Regions from separate parts of the Homo sapiens genome. Here all the other regions are linked to region 1. Evidence: promoter capture Hi-C in 16 types of primary human blood cells and fetal thymus (Javierre and others, 2016). All regions are on one chromosome and are shown on one strand. Each heading gives the region's core, a stretch centred on a gene start or on the middle of the fragment in contact. The rest is flanking DNA. Distances are from core to core; before and after follow the strand shown. Region 1 holds the start of MOB1B (MOB kinase activator 1B). Region 2 overlaps LOC124900712 (a long non-coding RNA gene). Region 3 overlaps AMBN (ameloblastin). Region 4 overlaps ENAM (enamelin).

Region 1 (3,544 bases), core at 92-2,591:
AGCTATTTATCCTGATCTGGTAATCTTTTGAGTCTGTAAGTTTTCTCATTCCAGTAACCTCTGCTGTTCCTGAGATAGTGCAAGATTCTAGTATTTTCTTCTATTAAAAAATTTTTTTTTTGAGACGGAGTCTAACTCTGTCACCCAGGCTGGAGTGTAGTGGCATGATCTTGGCTCACTGCAACCTCTGCTTCCTGGGTTGGAGCAATTCTCCTGCCTCAGCCTCCCGAGTAGCTGGGATTACAAGTGTGTGCCACCATGCCCGGCTAATTTTTGTATTTTTAGTAGAGACGGGGTTTGGCCATGGTCTTGAACTTTGGCTGGTCTTGAACTCCTGACCTCAGGTGATCCACCCACCTCGGCCTCCCAGAGTGCTGGGATTACAGGCATGAGCCACTGCGCCCGGCCTAAAACGTTTTTTTTTTTTTTTTTTTTTTTTTTTTTTTTTTTTTTTACCACTTTACCAACGTGCCAAATAATAGTGCATATATGCAGTATAATACATTTCATATCTGCACCTACTTCAAAGTGTATTCTGCCCTTTGGGATAAGCCAAAGGTGAGCTAATATCTGCACATGATTTGTTTTGCTCAGATTCTCTTTGAAAACTTGTAGATTTGATGGGTGTTGTGAGTAAAGAAGACGGACATCTCTTCGATACCCGTATTTCCCTCCTAAATTGGTAATGCTGTGGTGACATATTCAAGGTATGTGAAGGATTCTTAAACAGAATATAAAGGCTTGCCCTGGGCCCCATAACCCTGTGAGAATAAAAGTCCCTTTGTAAGTGGGTCTGAATAGCTTCTAGCTTCTAGGATGTTCTGTGCATTAGAATGCTTACAAGCTTTGGCCCCCTAAGTGGTTACACCGATGACCACCCTATCATGCTGGGTTCCGTGGTGAACTGAGAGATGCCATTACCTTTCACCGCCCTTGGCCGGACACTCACGGTGGGCCTAACTCCGGTGGTAATTCCATCCCTCACTGCGGGACCTTGACATCCCCGAGCTGAAGCCCACTTCCTCCCTGACCTCTGGAGCCCAGCTGAGCGGCTCCGAGAGCTCTGCCATGACTCCTAACCGGGTGGACAGGGGGGCCGGGCAGCCGCGGCGCACACGCTGGGCGTCGTCCCTAGCAGCAGAGGAGACCAGAAGGTGAGAGTCCCCATGCCGCAGCCGGAGGGCCGGGGTGGGCTTGCACCGCTATCGCGAGAGCTCGTGAGGTGGGGGCGGCGGGGAGCTGGGGAGGGGCTCGCGGAGAGCCTGCCCCGCCTCCCTTTCCTTCCCCTCCCCTGGAGTGATTCAAGACGAGCGCTACCCACTTCCGCCCCCTCCCCCTGCCATTGGAACTAGCTGAGCCGAACTAGTTGCGGCCACCGAGCAGCCGGCTCTCGGCACCTCCTCCTCCGCCTCCCTGTCTCCTGTTCCATTCGCCTTTCCTCTTCTTTCCTGGCCCACGCCGCTCCGAGGCCTCGCGACCGCCGAGCCTGCAGCCTGCCCCGCGGCCAACATGAGCTTCTTGTTGTGAGTAGCCAGGCCCCGCACGCGCCGGCTTTGTTCGGGTGGACCTGGGCCCCCGCCCGCCGCCCGCCGCCCGTCGCCCGCCCTCGTCCCGACCCTCCTGGCCCAGCGCTCCCGGGGCCCGGCGTCACCACCAAGCGGGGCCCCGGGACTGCGCGGAGCGCTCGGACTACCTAACCGCCGCCTCCCCATAGGGCTTCGAGTACTCGTGGGCTCCTGCAGCCCTGAGGAGGTTCTTCCCCCCCGGCACACCCCGGGGCCAGCGCCTGGATTCCTTCATCACCCCCGTCTCTGCCTTCGCTCGCATTCCCGGGCTTGTTTGTGCGCTTCTCGTGGGTATCTCCCACTCGCCTGCACAATCCGTATCCAAGCGGTGCTCGGTTGAATGGCTCCGTCGCGGCTGCCCATTGCTCTTTTCTGGGTCCCAAGCACAGAAGATAAGACTGTCGTACTTTCCCCTGTCATCCCAGGACCCTTTTAACTTCCTCTCTCGTCTTAGGGCTGGGAAGTTGGGATGACAAGTTCTGTAGATGTAACACTGAAACAAGGCTACTTGCGGGTCGGGATCCCTTGGACACAGACGGGGGTCCCTGAGAAAGGGGTCTGGAGCCGCCCCCTTGCTTCCTAGAGGCGCCCTTCCTCCCAGAGGACTTCCCTGAAGAGGATGAGTTTTATCTTTTTAGACAACCAGCAAATAGGTTTTGGATAGTGTGCCCTGCCTAGGTTGATTAGGTCCACTGGGGAGTTGTTTTGAAAATCATTTGTAAATGCCAACTTTGGCGTCATGTTTAGTGCTGGTCATTATTTCACTTACTTATCGTTTGTTCCAGACGAGTGGAGGGGAACGTGGAGGGGGAAGGGCAGAAGGATGGGATGGCCAGATGTGGATATGGAGGCAGTAGATAAGCCTCAGGTCCTCTGAAAACAGGGGTTACAGCCTGAGGAATAACTCCTTTGAAGGCTTCGTTGTGATGCACTCATTCCATGTTTAGTCTGTGTTTAGAAAACTAATAAAAAACTTAGAAGTTGAAACTCACCCATATACTGTTTTACTGTTGTGGAGAAATTAGCATTTAAAGGATATTTTCTTAAGATTTCTCTTCTTTCCTTGCCTAATAATTTTTAGTCATTACATTGACGTCTGAATACTGAGAATTTAATTCACTCTTATTTTCACATGCTCACATCTAGAATTTTTTTTTTTAGGGTGTTTAAGCAAAACTGAACAAGGCTGACCTAGGGGCAGACTTGATATTTCCAATATGCATAGGGGACCTGGCTTGTGTCAACTTGCCTAAAACCTTTAAACGGAAAGGGATTTCTTAGGCTCCTCCTAGAAGTTGATTCTGAGTTTGTCGGATTGGCATAGGGCTAGATGACAGGACTGGGTGATTTTATAAAAAAGTCCTTGTTTCTTATTTTAGTTCTTTTTTTTTTTTTTTTTTTTTTTTGAGACGGAGTCTCCGCTCTGTCACCAGGCTGGAGTGTGTAGTGGCGTGATCTCGGCTCACTGCAACCTCTGCCTCCCGGGTTCAAGCGATTCTCCTGCCTCAGCCTCCTGAGTAGCTGGGACTACAGGCCCGCGCCACCACGCCTGGCTAATTTTTGTATTTTTAATAGAGATGGGGGTTTCACCATGTTGGCCAGGCTGGTCTCGAACTCCTGATTTCAAGTGATCTGCCTGCCTTGATCTCCCAAAGTGCTGGGATTACAGACGTGAGCCCACCGTGCCTGGGCAGTTTCTTGTTTTAGTTCTAATCACCATATTCAGGTATCTCAACTTGAAGCTTCTCATCTTGAGCTTAATTTTACATTGCTAATGTTTGATTGTTTTCAAGAATTTAGAAGCTGTATTCAAAATAGCACTGTAGATGATATCCATGACTACTGCTGATGGGCTTGTGTCTAGTAAGCTAAATTGGTTAAAGCAAGGCCAGTCGCGGTGGCTCATGCCTGTAATCCCAGCACTTTGGGAGGCCAAGACAGGCAGATCACCAGGTCAGGAGTTCGAGATCAGCCTGGCC
Region 2 (3,282 bases), core at 132-2,631, 280 kb after region 1:
TTTGTACTGTCAAGTTGCCTTTACAATTTTTCATATTTATGTCTTGTTGATTCAGATTTGTCCTCGAACATTCCTATCTCAGAAAGACCTTCCTTGACCCCCCCACTTGAAAGCAGCTGTCCCTTGCCCTGTCAACTCTATCACATCTCTGTGCTTTATTTCTTCTAGGGCTAAGGGGATTCTACAATTTCTCACTATGTCTTCCTTTTGAGGTGAAAGGGAGTGCTGTTATCATTACAGAAGGATAACAGGTGTAAATTGGCAATGTGACCTGGGATAGTTGGACACCCTCTTCATAGCATTTATCACTTCATTGCATTTAGCATTCCAAGATAATGGACATTATTTTGTCCACTTATTTGTTTACTTGTAAGTTCCATGAAGCAGGAACTTTTCTTGTTCTAGGAATCCATCACCCAGAAGAGTTCTTGACACAAAATAAGTAGGTTCTTAATAAATATTGGTTGACTGAATGGATGACCCAACCATGCCCCATATTCTGTGGTAGAACTGAGCATCCTTTGGTTGGCACTGGTAAATTGAAATGCCATGAAGGCACATTTGCTCAGAGTGCTCTTTCCCTAAGCAGAGGGGAAAAAGGAGCCAACGTTTAATATTCAGATTTTGATTTGCAGTGTTTTCCGTGAAGACATGAGTCTGGTAGATGGGTACTAGCAACATCAACTGTTTTGTTACTTGCAAGGAGACTGAGGTGCTGTGGTCTCCAAGATAGGCCTGGTCTAAAGAGCAGACCAGTGGGATGTGAACGGTAATAGGCCAGTTGGATCTGGTGGTCGGTTAGTCCATAGGGAAACCTGTCTCCAAGCAATGGAACAGCTGAATCCGCATGACTTGGTCCATAGGCCAAAAAGGAGGAACAGCTTTTAAGTGGCCTGCTATGTAGGCCCATTCAATTCCCAAGGAGGCAGGAAGCCAGTGGGATACAAAGGAAAAAACACCTTTCTGTGTCTGGGAAGTTGCTAGTCTGATCACGTGTATGTACATTTCACACACACACACACACACACACACACACTCTCTCTCACATTATGAGAGTCCAAGGGCCCCAAGAGTCTGTTCTGATAGAGAAGTCTAACATAATTCTCTACCACCGTACCTAAAACCAGACCAATCTTTTAAATCAGGGGCCTGGGTTTTAGTGGCTTAGTAGCTCATTTTAAGTTTTCCTTCTCCTTCCAAACAGAGAGGTCTGTGTCCTGTGTTATGCTGATCTATGGGAGAATTCCTGCAGGAGGAAGGGGCTGAAACATTGGCCTAAGGTTATTAAACAGAGCTTTCGTAATAAATATGTTGATACCATTTCTGAAAGATTTGCATATTTCTCTATCACATATTGTTCAATTTTATTAGAGGAAATCATTCTGGTATCCTGTTGGAATTGCTGAATTTTGGGGTATTATCTTAAGCTCCTTGATTTTAATGCTGTGGGAACTGAGACTCAGATTGAATAACCTGCCTTCCTTGACATTAACTGAGATAAGCTCCTGTTTTCAGAAGTTAGAACCCTCTACTGATAGTTGACTTTAGGCATGTGTTTTAAAAACGACAGTTGGATATGGTTGAGAGCTCAGTTGCTAAAGCTGTGAAGCAACTTGGGACACACGTTTAACCAAATAAAATTATTTTCCCCAGCTCATGCTGTGCTGACAGCTTCCAAAAACTGTGTTCACCTTCATTCTCTCCTCATAAAAAGGGGCTACAGGTATTTTTAAACCTGGGGTTTGAGGAAGAGAATGTTAATTATAAATCTAGATTAGTTGAATGTATTCAAGAATTTGCCAGACTGAATATGAATACTCTTGGAGTGTAAGTGAAACAAAAATGAGGCCTTTGGTGACCTATTATCTATCGATCTATATCTATCTATCTTTCATCCCAGATTGGTTTTAGAATGAGAAGAACAAAAGTTGCTTTTTCTCATTTCTTACTCTTACACAATGAAGTGGTTAACAAAATTGATACAGAGTGACAACTTTAATGATCATTCTGTTGCAAACAACTACAAGTCCAAACAAATATCAGCACAAAGAAAATCTCTATTCTGTGTAGCAACATGTTGGTCAGACTTTCGCCAATGAACCACCTATTTAAAAAGGACTTGATATTGACAAACATCTCTGATCAGTCTTTGACGTTTATAGTAACAAGCTATAATGTTATCTCCTACCACCTTTCTGTTTAGGCCCCAATATGAAATGCCTATGAATGTTATAATTTTGTATAACTCCAGGAGAAACATCCAACAATATTTTTCACCTTTTTTCCCAATAGTGAAAAAATCCAAATATAATAGTTATATTTATGGATTCTGCTCTTTGTTGAACACAGTGCTTTACAGACAACATATGGTGACAAGCCATCACTCTTCCTATTTTATGTAATGAGGAAACTTAAATACAGAGTCTTTAAGGACCTAGTCAGTCACACAAATACTGAGAAAATTCTATGCTAATAATCCTATCTGCAGGTCACATCGGCACCTTACTTTCAATAATCAACGCAGGGCCGATCAATTGCATTATTCTACTACATACAACTTCTTGTTTTAGAATCAAAGAATGTCATGCCTATAAGCGACCAGAAATGCCTGGACTACCTATTCGAAAACTTTCATCTTCATTCTTCTTAGAGACATTATGTCGTCATCACCTGCTGCCACTAGATGGTGCTTGTCATCGAAACAAAGGTCCTTCCTCCTTTCTGTTTTCTTTAGATGCCTATTAGGACCTTGGATGATACGAAAGAAATTTGATTAATAAGCTAAGTACTGGGCTGGTATTCTAAGAAGTCCTTTAGTACAGAGAGTTGTTGATTAAAAAGTAAACAAATCATTATCAGTAAAGCTTACTTACACCATTTTTCTAATTCCATCAGTTTTTCTGCTCATTCTTCTTGTCACCAAGCTGTGTGAACCCCAAGACAAAAAGAACTAATAAATCTTTCTTTGTGCTTATGAGAATCAAGAGACATGGCACAAGTTTTAGGAGAGGTGAACAAAAATCTCAGGATTCATTGTTATCACCCGGAAAAGCAATCGAAAGTGATCACATGCAGAGTTTATAAGAAAAATTAATCAATGACCTTTCAAAGGAAAACACGTATATCTCAACTACTGGACACTAATCAATAGGAAAGGAAATAGAACACTCTTTTAATTGTGGGATAGCAAACATCAAGTAATGAAAATGATAACAGAGGTTGTCAACGCTTTGCCAAAGACTCTTTTTCTCATTAATTTAAGACACATACCAAATCTCACCT
Region 3 (3,340 bases), core at 96-2,595, 300 kb before region 1:
TGAAGCAATATCCAAAGATTTCATCATGTTTCCTATGTAATCTTTCATTTCTGGGTGATGACTATTCTTGAGCATAGAGTTTTGCCCCATTGCTTGTAGATGAACAGAGGAGAAAACTCCCCTTGAAAGGCCGTCATTGAACTATAAACACTTCAAACCAAAAGGATACACGTGGTTCATACAGAGTTCTTGTTCTTTCTGGGACCATTTAACCCCTCAAAACATCAAATTCAACAGCATTACAAGTAATTCAGATCTCAAAATTGAAAGATCAAAAAGCAAAAGAAAACCAAGTTTAAAATGTGATTATTATAAATGTCAATGTGCATTGTCAATGAGCATATACTCTTATTATGTTATCATTATCCATGCAAGTTTAAGATTTGAGATCAATAAAGTCATACAACTTGACTTTTTCCCTAAGAAAATTTTTGCCTGTTACATCTGTTAGAGCACAAGGCAAGACAAAACAAAAGCTATATTGAATTAACAAATCACTGTCAACTACAGATCCTGTCAAGTTAACAAACACACACACATATTATCTGTGAAAGAAAAATTACATCTCAGTATTTTTGTGTGCCTTCCATGTGCCACACACATAGGAAAATACTGTAAACAAGACAAGGTAAGATTTTCGTTTTTGGCTGGGCGCAGTGGCTCATGCCTATAATCCCAGCACTTTGGGAGGCTGAAGCGGATGGATCACCCGAGATCAGGAGTTTGAGACCAGCCTGGCCAACATGGTAAAACCCCGTCTCCACTAAAAATACAAAAATCAGCCAGGTTTAGTGGCGCGAGCCTGTAGTCGCAGCTACTCAGGAGGCTGAGGCAGGAGAATCACTCGAAACTGGGAGGCAGAGGTTTCAACGAGCTGAGATCACGCCACTGCACTCCAGCCTGGGCAACAGAGCAAGACCCTGCCTTAAAAAAAAAAAAAAAAGTCTTGTTTTCAAGGAACTTACAGTCTAATGAATGGAAAAGATAGGTACAAGGGCAGATACCTAATGTCAAAATCATGGGCTAAAAGTAATAACAATTTTATTAGAGAGAAAGAGTCAGAGAGGAAGGGCAGTTAGCCCAGTCCAGGGATTCACAGTATCATCCCTGGAGGAGATGATGTGAAAGCTGAGAGAGAATGAAGAGTCAGGAGAAAGGAGAAGGAAAGAGTATTGTATCTATATAGCACCAATACAAGTGGCTGGAAGTTCAAAATTCAAGTAAGTGTTAATTGCCATCACATAGTATTAATTATTTCTATTCTGCCTCATTCCCAAAAGATTTTGTAGAGCTTATGAAAAACACACAATAAATATAACAAAAAATTGAAAGTAGGATTTAAAATGAGTCATAATTTCAAGAAAATCAGAATACAGATATGCAAGTCACACAGGCCTGCTCAATTGCTACAAACAGCCTAAGATTTTGGACCCCATATTTCTGGCAGCAAAGGTAGAAAAAGAAACATGGTCAGTGCTGGTATTCTATTTGTCCACAAGAAGAAAATATTTTAGTTACTCCAGGGAAGTCACATTTTTTTTCTTAAACTTTGTGCTTTAAAAAAATTAAAGTCTTAGCTGGGTGCAGTGTCTCACCCCTGTGATCCCAGCTACTAGGGAGGCTGAGGCAAGAAGATCACTTGAGCCTAGGAGTTCTAGACCAGCAGCCTGGGCCGTATAATGAGACCCCTAAAAGAAAAAAAAAGTACATGGAACTTCATTTGGGGGACACTGAAAAATGCCATTGACAAGATTCTCGCTCAACAAATGCAGTTATGAATTTCAGTTCTTATTTGTTTTGTGATGGTAGTACTCATTTCAACTGCTTGTTTTCTTAAAATTAAATTCAAACTCACCTTTGCCTCAAGTCTTGCTTCTGCCCTGTTATCTCCCTTTTACGGAAATCATGCCGAGATCCACCCAGATAAGTGCAGAATCCTCTTCATTATGTTTCAAAGCCAGTTTAGTGAGAAATGAGCTTACACAAAGCTATCAATCAGCCAACTTCCTATTCTCCACCAGTTTTTTAGAGATCCTTGGTGAATGTGACCAGGTATAGCTGCATGGTATAGTTAATAGCATGTGATGATGGCATCTTTGACGAATGTTTTTTTTTCCAGGGCGGGAGAGAAGACCCAATGGCCTATGGAGCCATGTTTCCAGGATTTGGAGGCATGAGGCCCGGCTTTGAGGGAATGCCCCACAACCCAGCTATGGGCGGTGACTTCACTCTGGAATTTGACTCCCCAGTGGCTGCCACCAAAGGCCCTGAGAACGAAGAAGGAGGTGCACAAGGCTCCCCTATGCCGGAGGCCAACCCAGACAATCTAGAAAACCCAGCTTTCCTTACAGAGCTAGAACCTGCTCCCCACGCAGGGCTCCTTGCTCTCCCTAAGGATGACATTCCCGGCCTGCCAAGGAGCCCTTCAGGGAAGATGAAGGGACTCCCCAGCGTCACCCCAGCAGCTGCTGACCCACTGATGACCCCTGAATTAGCTGATGTTTATAGGACCTACGATGCTGACATGACCACATCCGTGGATTTCCAGGAAGAAGCAACCATGGATACCACGATGGCCCCAAACTCTCTGCAAACATCCATGCCAGGAAACAAAGCCCAGGAGCCCGAGATGATGCATGACGCATGGCATTTCCAAGAGCCCTGACAGCTCTAAGATATTAGCTACTTTCTGTATGCACAAGCTTCCCAGCTTTGTCCCCACAGTGTACCTTTTTGCTAAAACACTTATTACCCTTCTGCAGCAAAGGCATTAAAAGCGCTAAGCATATATTAATAAATGCAAGTGGCTAGAAATAGTGTAGGTCCCCTTCTTGCTTTCAATATCTTGTTGAAATAAAATGTGTCAATTGTCTCTGTGATTTAGAAACACTATTAATAACATCAGAGCAAGGTTCTAAGGGTCTCAGCATTTGATCATCACTTTTTCTTAGCTGTCTTAAGCATTATAGAATTTCTCTTACCAGCATGACACTATTATATTCAGGAAACATGGCACTGCTTTTTTCTCTAAGCAAAGGCAAATATCCTCATAATTCTAAGCTAATTCATTTAAACTTTATTAAATGGGGATTGGTGGAAAACTCCTGACTGGTATTACTGGGTTTGGTATAATTTAATTTAAAATTCTCATTTATAGAGTATTTTATTTAATCTAGTATAAAAAATCTAGCCTATTTTAAATAAAGAATTTTTCTCACTGAAATTATCAGGAATTGTATGCTTATTATTTATATAGATTTAAATGGTTCAAGAAAAGCATACTCATCCTCTACCTTTGCTTCTCTTTAATTCATTGTATTCAATTCATTCATTCTTTCAT
Region 4 (3,225 bases), core at 707-3,206, 260 kb before region 1:
TTTTAGAGATGGGATTTCACCATGTTGACCAGACTAGTATCGAACTCCTGGCCTCAAGTGATCCAGCCACCTCAGCCTCCCAAAGTGCTGGGATTACAGGCATGAGCCACTGCAACTGGCAGAGATTGTTCTTAAAATAACATTGAAGATTACCGTGTCAGTAATGGTATAAGGCGCTCTCAAATATATCATGAAATAACCCCAAATAAAAATGATTCAGATAATTGTATGCAACCTAGAAAGTGGCACTTCTAATTTTCATATGAGTAACATAAGAAAGGAAGCAGAAAGATCCAGGCAGTTATCACAGGCTTTAAGAAGCTTTTATTTAGGCCAGGCACGGGTGGCTCACACCTGCAATCCCAGCACTTTGGGAGGCTGAGGCAGGTGGATCACTTGAGGTAAGGAGTTTGAGACCAGCCTGGCCAAGGTGGTGAAATCCCGTCTCTACTAAGAATACAAAAATTAGCCGGGTATGGTGGTGCTGGCCTGTAATCCCAGCTACTGTGGAGCCTGAGGCAGAAGAATCGCTTGAACCCAGGAGGGGAAGGTTGCAGTGAGCTGAGATCACATCATTGCACTCTAGTCTAGGCGACAGAGCGAGACTCAGTCTCAAAAAACAAAAAAGGAAAGAAATCTGAATTTAGATAGGCACAATGGCTCACACCTGTAATCCCAACACTTTGGGAGGCTGAGACAGGAGGATCACTTAAGCCCAGGATTTCAAGACCAGCCTGGGCAACATAGGGAGAATAAAATAAATGTTAGGTGAACGTGGTGTCACGTGCCTGTGGTCCCAGCTACCCAGGAGGCTGAAGTGGGAGGATCACTTTAGCCTGGGAATTCAAGGCTGCAGGGAACCCTGATCTTGCCACTGCACTCCAGCCTGGGCAACAAAGAAAAACCCTGTCTCAAAAACTAAGATGTCTGTATTCTACCTCTTGAGGGCACTACCTGATTTCCTGCATGATCTTGGGAGATATTTCCTTGCCTGTCTTTCTCATCTCCATCCACAAATGGGGATTAAAATACTTTTCTTTATATTGCATTTGTTTTAAAAAGAAAAATCAAATGATCTAAATGCCACACAAATGTCTAACAAACATACTGACTGAGTTCGTGATGATTAAATCATTCATTAAATGAAAATTTATTAAGAACATCCCACTCTCCTCGGTACTGGAAAACAAGGATGAGAAGCATAATGTTTTCATTCAAAACCTTCACATGGGAGAATTAAATGGAAGAATCCCAGGAAAATAGGAAACTGAAATTCAGTGGGATAATTGTGATGACAGAAATCTGTACTGCTGTGGACTCCTAGGAATAGGACCTAATTCTGCCCATGGAAGTCAAGACACAGAAGGTAGAAGTCAAACTGAGCTCTGAAGGATGAGTCAAATTTGCCAGGAGGAATAAATGTGTCAATGGAAGAAGTTTCAATATGAATAAGCCGTGTGCAAAGGCACTGAAACATAAAAAGAATAGAGAACCCAGAGAATTCAACGTAGTTGTGATTTGCAACTGCATAAAGTGCAAGGGGGAGGAAATGAGGCTGAATGTAATAGTTATAGCCCAGATTATTATTAAAAATTGTATTATTATTATATAATATATAACACTTATTAGGCACTTACTAAGTACCAGGCACTGAGCTGTACTTATTTTGTCTCATTTGGCCCTCATGACAACCTATGAGGTAGACGTTATTTTATTATCATCTCCATATTACAAATGAATAAACCAAGGTTGGCCCAGAGTCATAGTACTAATACTGGTGGAACGGGGATTTTAATGCACATCTGTCTAGAGCCCCACTGTTTAGCAGCATGTTGTACTGCTTTGATGTTATGTTAAGGGATTTAGAGTTTATTTTGTAAAGGAGAACTTTAAATACAAATTTAAAGAGGAAAGGGGCCAAATTTCCATATACCCACTCTCAGCCTCTAATACTCTGACGGCAGTGCAGAAGCAAGATTAAAGGAAAGTAAGACTGTATCCAGAGTAGCCAGTAAGAAAACTACTGTAACAGTTCAGGGGTACTGTGGATTAAGGAAGTGGGAACAAGGATGAAAGTTTAGATTTTATAGGACCTGATTATTAATAGTCTGAAGTACTAAGAGAGAGCAGAAACTTAAGAAACTGTACAGATAGTGGTGAATGTTGCTTAAATATAGAACATCGGAGGAGGAGATTTCACGGGAGATGAGCCCAGTTCTGGGTGCATTCAGTTGGAGGTACTCATGAAATCTTTAGTGGAGATGTTTTGCTGCCTCAACCTTGGGTGAGAGTGTTGTGGGTTAGAATTATGCCTTTGGGAGTTGTTAGCAGTCTATGCCTATTAAAAGCATGGGCTGATGCAATAGAATTCTTTTTTCTTTCTTTCTTTCTTTTATTTTTTTTTATTTTATTTATTTATTTATTTTTTTTTTTGAGATGGAGTCTCGCTGTTGCCAGGCTGGAATGCAGTGACACGATCTGGGCTCATTGCAACCTCCACCTCCTGGGTTCAGGCGATTCTCCTGCCTCAGCCTCCTGAGTAACTGGGACTACAGGTGCGTGCACCACCATGCCCAGCTAATTTTTGTATTTTTAGTAAAGACGGGGTTTCACCATGTTGGCCAGGATTGTCTCGAACTCCTGACCTCGTGATCCACCTGTCTCGGCCTCCAAAAGTGCTGGGATTACAGGTGCAATAGAATTCTTAAAAGAGGTATGTAAAAACAGAACAGAAAAATTAGGAGGATGGAGGATGAAATCATTAAAAACAAAACAGAAAAACAAACAAAAACCCTCAGATGTATAAGGCCTAAAAAGAGAAAGCTGAGCAGTGGTCAGAAAAAAATACCAGGAGAGAGAACCAGAAAGAGTATGGTCATGGAAACCAAGGAAGAATCAAATTTCAAGAAAGAAAGTAAAGCTAATGATGTTAAAAGAATCATGTGGCTGATAAGATTTCCCTGTTATACTAAAAAATTCCAAACAACACCATGGTGGGAAACAAAGGGCAATTATTGATTTCCATTTTCTTTCCTACAGAATCCTTACTTTGGATATTTTGGATATCATGGCTTTGGGGGTCGCCCTCCTTATTATTCAGAAGAAATGTTTGAACAAGATTTTGAAAAACCCAAAGAAGAAGATCCTCCTAAAGCAGAAAGTCCAGGCACAGAACCCACAGCTAATTCAACAGTCACTGAGACGAATTCTACCCAACCAAATCCT

What was found. Contacts are between HindIII fragments. The CHiCAGO score rates a contact against its expected background, and 5 or more counts as called.
Region 2: a contact is called between a fragment that was not itself captured here and the fragment with the promoter of MOB1B in region 1, in 1 of 17 cell types (fetal thymus). The highest score is 6.6, in fetal thymus.
Region 3: a fragment that was not itself captured here is called in contact with the fragment with the promoter of MOB1B in region 1 in 3 of 17 cell types (fetal thymus, total B cells and naive B cells); the score reaches 7.2 in fetal thymus.
Region 4: a fragment that was not itself captured here is called in contact with the fragment with the promoter of MOB1B in region 1 in 1 of 17 cell types (total B cells); the score reaches 5.2 in total B cells.

Annotation. Positions count from the first base shown.
Region 1 is chr4:70,901,028-70,904,571 of GRCh38, forward strand. MOB1B (MOB kinase activator 1B) reads left to right here and starts at 1,342. Exons shown (of 6, transcript NM_173468.4): 1 at 1,342-1,523. The coding sequence starts at 1,510. It overlaps LOC124900711 (a long non-coding RNA gene), which reads right to left and starts at 1,204. Exons shown (of 2, transcript XR_007058132.1): 1 at 922-1,204. RefSeq lists silencers at 1,162-1,311, 1,622-1,671. The HindIII fragment of the contact is 2,463 bases long and covers 843-3,305 here.
Region 2 is chr4:71,181,708-71,184,989 of GRCh38, forward strand. LOC124900712 (a long non-coding RNA gene) reads right to left here. Exons shown (of 2, transcript XR_007058133.1): 1 at 2,874-3,282; 2 at 1,981-2,748. It also overlaps a transcript of SLC4A4 not described here. Among named protein-coding and RNA genes, the nearest start is that of SLC4A4, 3.9 kb to the right of the region's middle. The HindIII fragment of the contact is 2,961 bases long and covers 1-2,862 here.
Region 3 is chr4:70,604,066-70,607,405 of GRCh38, forward strand. AMBN (ameloblastin) reads left to right here. Exons shown (of 13, transcript NM_016519.6): 13 at 2,120-3,223. The coding sequence ends at 2,665. Among named protein-coding and RNA genes, the nearest start is that of AMBN, 13 kb to the left of the region's middle. The HindIII fragment of the contact is 2,710 bases long and covers 1-2,700 here.
Region 4 is chr4:70,638,976-70,642,200 of GRCh38, forward strand. It overlaps ENAM (enamelin), which reads left to right. Exons shown (of 9, transcript NM_031889.3): 9 at 3,040-3,225. Among named protein-coding and RNA genes, the nearest start is that of ENAM, 12 kb to the left of the region's middle. The HindIII fragment of the contact is 3,274 bases long and covers 320-3,225 here.